Linked DNA regions of Homo sapiens: region 2 is linked to region 1. The links are contacts of gene promoters, found by promoter capture Hi-C in blood cells and fetal thymus (Javierre and others, 2016). All regions are on one chromosome and are shown on one strand. The core of a region is centred on a gene start or on the middle of the fragment in contact, and the rest is flanking DNA. Distances in the headings are between cores, read along the strand shown.

Region 1 (3,759 bases), core at 1,187-3,686:
TTTAAAATTTTTTAAATGAAAATTTTAAATAAAACATTTTTTAAATAAAAAATTTAAAGAAAATAAAAAGATTTCATTTTCTTTAAAATAAAATCTGGCTGTCCAATTGTTATTTCTTCGGTTGCTTTTCAAGAAAGTGTGAAGTCAAAAAGTAATTTTAAAAGGTAGGACTCTTCAATCTGCTTGAACAACAACAACTAGATAGTCTTAAATAAGTTCCTTTTATTTATTCTTACGTTGGTATTTTAAGTTAAATATTATACCAATAAGAATAGCTAGTTACGAAACAGCAGGAAATTCCACATATTTATTTAAAAAATAGACATGTTTTTAAAATCTCATTAATGACTTTGTAAATTGTAATACCTACCTTTGGTAAGGGTGCAATGAAATAAACACCCATAGGTACTAGTGGACATGGCATAAACTGCTACTATCTTTCAGAAAAGGCAATTTCATAATATACATCAAAACCCTAACATGTTTGACCCTTTGCTTCAGAAATTGAACTTTTAGGAATTTAGCCTGATGGAATGTATAATTAAAGAAATGGACAAATACTTGTGTGCAAATGTGTTTGTCATGACATTATCTGTAATACAAAAAAGCTGGAAAAAACATAAATCTACAATAACTGGGAATTGGTTAATGAAATAGTAGGCTATTCATACAATAGATTGCCACATAGGCATCAAGAAATATCCTATTTGAAATTAGTATATACAAACAAAGAAAAAATGTTAAGTTGTTATCTCTCAGTCCAGATGTCTTATTTTCTTTACTCTTTTCTGTATTTTCCAAATTTCCTTCAGTGAACATCTTCAGTTAAGAGGCCTTAAAAGTTCATTTGCTAGTATTATGCTGAAAAGTTCTTTTTTAAAAAATAAAACTACAGTTCAGCACAAGTGAAATTTAATGCTCTTTTTACTATCATTGTATCTTTCGAATATCTGCACCATTATTTGCCTTCCATATGTATTAAAATATGGAAAGAGCCAAAAGAGACATGTAATTCAAGCTCCCCTTTCTTCCCAAATGAAATTCCCCCAAATAAGACCACCATATTTTCAATTTATTAGGCACTTCCGCTTAACTTCTCTTCATAATTATAAGGAGTTCTTTTGAAGTTTATATGTCCTTGTCTTTGTGTTTGATCTGTCTCTTCACTGTGCTGTAGGGACACATCTTCCGCCTTTAAATTCCATCAATCTCCCTTCACCTCCCGCTTCTCCTGTGTCCTAGACAGTGTGTATAATTCTTTGCTCTTCAGCGTATTCAATATAAAGAAGGTAGCATATAAAACAGTTACATAATGCAAGCTTTATTCGTAGTTAGAAAATCATTATCAAAATGTTACCATTGCAATCATTTCCATAGACTGTCACGTAACCAACACCTGCAATGGGGAAGTGGTACACAATCCAACACAACTCATTAGGGGCTCTCAGTCTATTCAATCTCTGACACTCCAGCAGCCTCAGTACCACTTCAGGAGCCAATGCAGTCTACCTCTCTCCAGAGAGCAGTGTTCCACCTTTCTGGGACAGAAGTCAACAATCGCGTTCCCCAAGAGATGGAAAAGAAGTGGAGGAGGGTGAACAGGTTACCAAACCCACTTAGATACACTCCGCATAGACTAACTCTCCAAATTAAAGGACAGGAGGTCACCTGAGCTGACCATAAAAGCTCAGAGTGCTGATGCGAATAAGATCAGGGAAGGCTGCTTATTAACACCGTGGTCACTACAAAAGTTCTTGAGGGCATCTGCTGTGAGTTTTCCATCGTTCCTTATTGTCCTCCTGCATCTCCTGTTGCTTTTCTTGGCCCTCTCCTTTTCGCATTTTCTATGTCCTTTGCCCAGCAGTAGTACTGCAGGCATAAACCATTGTCGACCTGAGAATTAAATTAGCATTTGGTAGCCAGACCTCTCCTTGAGCCTTAGAATGCTTGTGTGCTTGAGGTCCCTGAAGTGTAACGTCATCTCAAAGCGCAAGTAACTAAAGGGAACCTACATGTGACAAGGTGCAGCGGAGGTTCAAGCAGAGCACCCTGGCCGCATCGCAACAGATTATAAAGTGTAGGGGATGAAAATGATGGAAGACATCAGAAAGCCGAGCTGTAAAAAAGCCCAAACTAAGCAAACTGAGACGCGCAAGCGCGTTGCTCACAGCTCGTCTCCCGAGGCCGAGCCACAGCGCCTGCGCACAGAATCCGGGGAGGGTGGGGAAGAGATGAGCACCCAGGCCTGGAGCTCCCACTGCCTCAGCCTCCCTATCCCCGCAAGCTCCGCCTCCTCCAGCTGCTCGCCTTCCCAAACAACCGGGTTCGCCGCCGGCGCTTTCTGCCCATTGGCCCTTAGCCTTTTCCGTTTCCGCCCAGCCCTCAAAATCCACCAATCAGTTTGCACTTTTGGGTGAGGGTCCACCTCCAAGGCTGTCGCTCCGGTTCCTCTGCCTCCTCTGGCTGCTGCCTCCGCAGCTCCCTCCTCCTACCCCACCTCCTCCATCTGGGGAGCGTCTGCGGGGGCCTGAGGGGCGGCGGCGGCGGCGGCGGCTGCGATATGGAGCCAGGGGCCGGCGGCCGAAATACTGCTCGTGCGCAGAGGGCCGGGTCCCCGAACACTCCGCCGCCCCGGGAGCAGGAGCGGAAACTGGAGCAGGAGAAGCTCTCCGGTGTGGTGAAGAGCGTCCACCGGCGGCTCCGCAAGAAGTACCGAGAAGGTAAACAGCGCGCTGAGTGAGGGAGGAAGGGGAGGCCTCATCACCCCCAACCGCTTGTCACCTCTTCCCTCCTCCAAAGAGGCCACCATTAAAATGTAAAGGATCTGCACGTCCCCCCAGCCGCTGCTGCTCTCCCGGGCCTGGTCTGAGCCCCCTAGTCGGCATCAGACGCGCTCCTCCCCGCCCCCTTTTCTTTGAGGGCCCTTCGGGAGAGTTCTAGGCCTGTAAAGGAATTGAGTCCCCACCCCCTCCAAGCCCCTGTCCCCAGCCGGGGTGCTGAGGTTGTTGTCTCGGCACACACAAACACATACACGCTCACAGAGGAGGTGGGGGTCGCTTTTTGCAAGAGACGCCGAGGTAAAACAAGACAGGTAAAATCCATTTGTAAAAGACGAAAAGAAACCTGAGTTGTCCCTCCTTTACGCTTGACCTACCGGCTGTACCATTTGCTTCCTTATCAGACCCCCTTCCTAGTACTTCATTCCTACAACCATGCCGAGCCTTCCTCGCATTGGCTTCCAGGGCTGGGAAGCCAGCAGGCCTTTTAGCTGACTGGACTTCACATTGTTAAAAGGGGGCGGGCTACACTCGTGGCCCCCACTCCCATTTCTTAAATACTTGGTCTTAACTGTTTATTTAGGCGATGAGGAAGAGATCTGGGCAGGTTCTGAAAATACCGTTTGTATTGGAAGCCTCCTAAAGACACCTGCCGATAAAGCCCACCCTCGGCTTCCATGGATGGGGTTCCGGTGAGAACCCCCTCTGTGGAAGCTCATAGGGGAAGAAGCCTTAGTGGCTTTTGCCTGTGCCTGAAGAGTGTTTATAGTTGGAGTCTACAGTTATCCTTGATATCTTTAAATATAGGCTTTTGTACACAGCTGTTTTATAAGATTTTGACAGTGAAAATTCTGTTTTCATAGGCTTGGGAGAGAGACTTCTCCTGAGTATCGAAATGAGGAAAGCTTTCCACTGGTTCTCATTTTAGCTTAATTGCAAACTGAAAAGTCAGCAGCCTTCTGGTGTTAGTCCTATACTTAGT
Region 2 (3,551 bases), core at 598-3,097, 180 kb after region 1:
CTATTCATGTACATGTGGATGGTACCATTCATGCTTTATTACTCATACGAAAATTTCGGCTTTATCCTTGACTCTCCCTCTTCCTCGTTACCCACATCCCATTAGTCTCTATCTAGTATTTTATATAACCATCCCCTCATCTCCATTCCTACTCCCTTTACCCTATGAAGGCCCTCACCATTCTTTCCACTAGTTATTGTTATAGCTTGTTAACTGTTTTTATTCTCCTGTCTCAAGTCTCATTTTGCTCCAATATAACTTCCATATTTTTGCCAAAACAATCTGTCTATACTCCATATAACTTTCACCATAAAGGATACATTCCTTGTGTTAGCATATCAGGCCTGCCTTCAGAGTCCTTATACATAATTTGTTCTACACACTTGGGTATTGGTAAGGAAAATACAGGATACGGATTTAAATTTGTAATCTACATCCATGTGTATTGATACACGTTCTCTCCTATTTCTCTCCTACCTAATTAGAAGAGGTATTCTTTACAACACCTACCCTTTGGATTCCTCTCTTTCCTTCCTCATGAAACAACTTAATAAAAATGACAATGGCTATTACTTATTGTTCGCTAGGTTCTAACACTGTGGTAAGTACTTCTGTATACTGATTTCATTGCCTTGTGATTAGCCTGTTTCCAAAATCTCTAGCTGTTCCTCATCTCAATCACCTTCCTGTCATTTAGAACTGTTTGTAAATCTCTGAAAATGTTATGTGTTTTTTTAAAACCAGTTCTACGTGGGTTCAAAATACATGCTGGTCTCAAAACATGTTAGTCACAAGTGAAGCAAGGCTCAGCAGGGAGAATAGATCGTGCTGGTGGCATAAATCTGGCATGAAAAATGTTTTCCCATGTTATTTATGAATCACAGGTTTGCATTCAGGAGAGATACTCGAGAGTAGAGAATCATGGACAGTGACTAATGAATATAACAGCTTAACTGACTTTTTATGTTATTGATCCCTACCACAACATGTTGGAGATGGGAGGATCATGGCAGGTAGAGGGGAGAGCCTTACAGCTGGTGGGGAGGTAGGTCTAGAGTGCAAGGCTTGGGCTACATAACTATGTGGCATCACTAAGTATCTCTTTAATCCAAAGGCAGGAACTTGCTTGCCACTCTAGTTTTGCCAAAACATCATAGGAAAACGCTTATTACCCAGGCAGTGCTGCAAAATAGGATCGGAGCTATGAAGTCCAGGGGTGAAGTAAGCAGCCCCCTTGCAAACCATGCACCATTTTGTTTTGTGATTTTTCTTTTTTTGGCCCATTGCAGGTAGTGCTGTTTCAGCAGAGCTGTAAGCAGAGCTGCATGGCCAACATCTGTGAAACAGTAAGAGCGGTCCCCACATGGCCTTCTGTCCTCAAAGTGAGGCTTATCAATTCAGAAAGAGTAGGGATTCTGGAGCTATGCTAGTTAATATGCAGGACTCTTCTCATTCCGTGTTATCCAGTAACTGGTAGAATAGATAGTTCTGCTTCATTACGAATGACACAGTTTCACAGTCAAGGGGCACCACTCCCACCCCCTGAACCTTTGAAGAACTCCATCCTCAGGCCTTGGTTATTCCACACAAAGTCCAGAGAAATGACCTAAACTCCACAGTGAGGGGAACCATGACCTACTCCTACCATCCCCTTCATGGGGTCATCAGCCAGCTCTTTCCCAGCAGAGCCACCAGACCCAAAACTCAGCCCTAGATGCTCAGGAAATCTTTGGGTTTTTTTGAGACACCTGTTTGCATCTTCTGCCAGACTTCAGACTGGAAATGCTTTGTGTTCTGTTGCCCCCTTGAATTTGATGCCTAAGATATCTAGAATTTCTGAAAGAGAATGCTTTGCAGGGTACCAGGCTTCCTGTTACATTTGGAGAGGCAGGCTCAGTAGCTTCAGAAGAGTAAAATGTTTTGTTTACACCAGACCAGAGCTCAGATCTCAGCTCTGAAAGATATGGGCTGAAACAGCTACCTTGGAAGTCACTTTTCAGTCAAAGGATGACATTCTGGCAGTCTGCTGCACTCAAGGGTCCATACTTAGGTTTAGAAGTGACTACTAAAGCTGTAGGTGCAGCCAAGGATGGGATGTGGAGTGAGGGTCTTGGCTGACCTATTGATCACAAATAGAGGGTAACGCTCAGCAGTAAAACCCTGAAATACATCAAGATGTCTGATTTGGTCATAGTGTCAGAATTGGAGAAAAGCTAAAAACTCCAAGGAACTAAACTACTGTCACAGTCCAAAAAAAAAAAAAAAAGAGTAATAACCTAACCTTTTTTTTTTTTTTTTTTTGACAAGTTTATTTAATCCAGTGTGGTAGAAAAGGCACAATTCCAATGTATCATTTACAATTGAATGTTGTTAACCTGGCTTTGTTGTTTGGAAGAACAATCCTCTTGTTAGGGTTAGGTAATTACTCCCTTCCCTTACTCCTGGACAGTGAGAGGGGTCTGACATTGGGATATGGTGTCCCAGGAGCTTAGCTGGTCAGGTGTGTGGAACCCAAAGGAGCAAAGAGCCAAGACAGCCCCTTGGAGAGAGAGAGAAATGAAAACCAAGCAAGCTGTTAAATTGAATATCACTCAGGAGTTAGGTAGAATGAAATAATTCAGCCTTGGGACGACGGGACAAAAACCAGATGAAAGCAATGGGGATTTCGAGATGGCAAAGGGTACAGAGAAGTCACAAGAGCAAGGGAGAAAAGCTGTGCACTTTTTTTGTTTCCTGAAGTAGAGTAGTGCAACTGGTCTGATGAATAATCAGGACTTACAAAGTGTAGTTATAAAGCAACTGTATTTCCCACTGTTCCTTTAAATTTGGTAGGTATGGTTGTTCTGGCAGGTTGACTGAAAATTCAAACTTTCTTTTTTTTTTTTTTTTTCCAGGTTATGTTTTGAAGATACAGTCTCACTGTAGTAATGAGAATGACCATTTCCATGTAAAGGGCAAAGATTCCAACCTCGTCAAAATTACAACTACTCTTAACTCCTCTAGCTGGGGAAGGAAATAGGGATAGCTGCTTCGTTTCTTCTCTTTCTTCTTCAGCTTGCAGTCTTTGACCCCTCAAGGGATGGAAGAGAGGTGGAGGGGAGGAAAGAGGCATAAGGAAGGCAGAAGAGTTTGAACTTCACTAGGGCCATGGTAACCTGGCTCCGGCAGACTGCATCTTCTGATGTTTACAGTGGCATCCTGCACTAATACTGCTGATACTGGGGATCTCCCACCTGTATGCAGTTGCTTCTTTACCTTACTCTTTCCATGGCTTTTAGGAATTCATTTGATACCCTAGCTTCTCTGTACTGAGGTCGGTTTGCTGTTCCAGGTGGCCCTCATGGGCAGGACCTCCCATGGCCATATACTGGCACTCTATTCATGGCCTTCTGTGGTCTGTGGGAAACCCTCTCACAACCTTTGCCCTTGCAAGTCTGGGCACCCATGCAGATCCACAGCTGCCTCTTGAACTCATTTCTCAGCGCCTGGCCAATGCTGTGGTCCTTCTGGTTTCACAGACAAGAATCAACACCAGTGCACTGGGCCTGCCA

The links. The method cuts DNA at HindIII sites, captures the fragments that hold promoters and counts their contacts. A CHiCAGO score of 5 or more calls a contact.
Region 2: a fragment that was not itself captured here is called in contact with the fragment with the promoter of SAMTOR in region 1 in 1 of 17 cell types (total CD8 T cells); the score reaches 5.2 in total CD8 T cells.

The regions. Positions count from the first base shown.
Region 1 is chr7:112,938,552-112,942,310 of GRCh38, reverse strand. It overlaps SAMTOR (S-adenosylmethionine sensor upstream of mTORC1), which reads left to right and starts at 2,436. Exons shown (of 5, transcript NM_152556.3): 1 at 2,436-2,720. The coding sequence starts at 2,561. RefSeq lists enhancers at 1,968-2,307, 1,962-2,478 and a silencer at 2,508-2,607. The HindIII fragment of the contact is 2,363 bases long and covers 1,322-3,684 here.
Region 2 is chr7:112,757,425-112,760,975 of GRCh38, reverse strand. No RefSeq gene overlaps it. Among named protein-coding and RNA genes, the nearest start is that of TMEM168, 31 kb to the left of the region's middle. The HindIII fragment of the contact is 6,868 bases long and covers 1-3,551 here.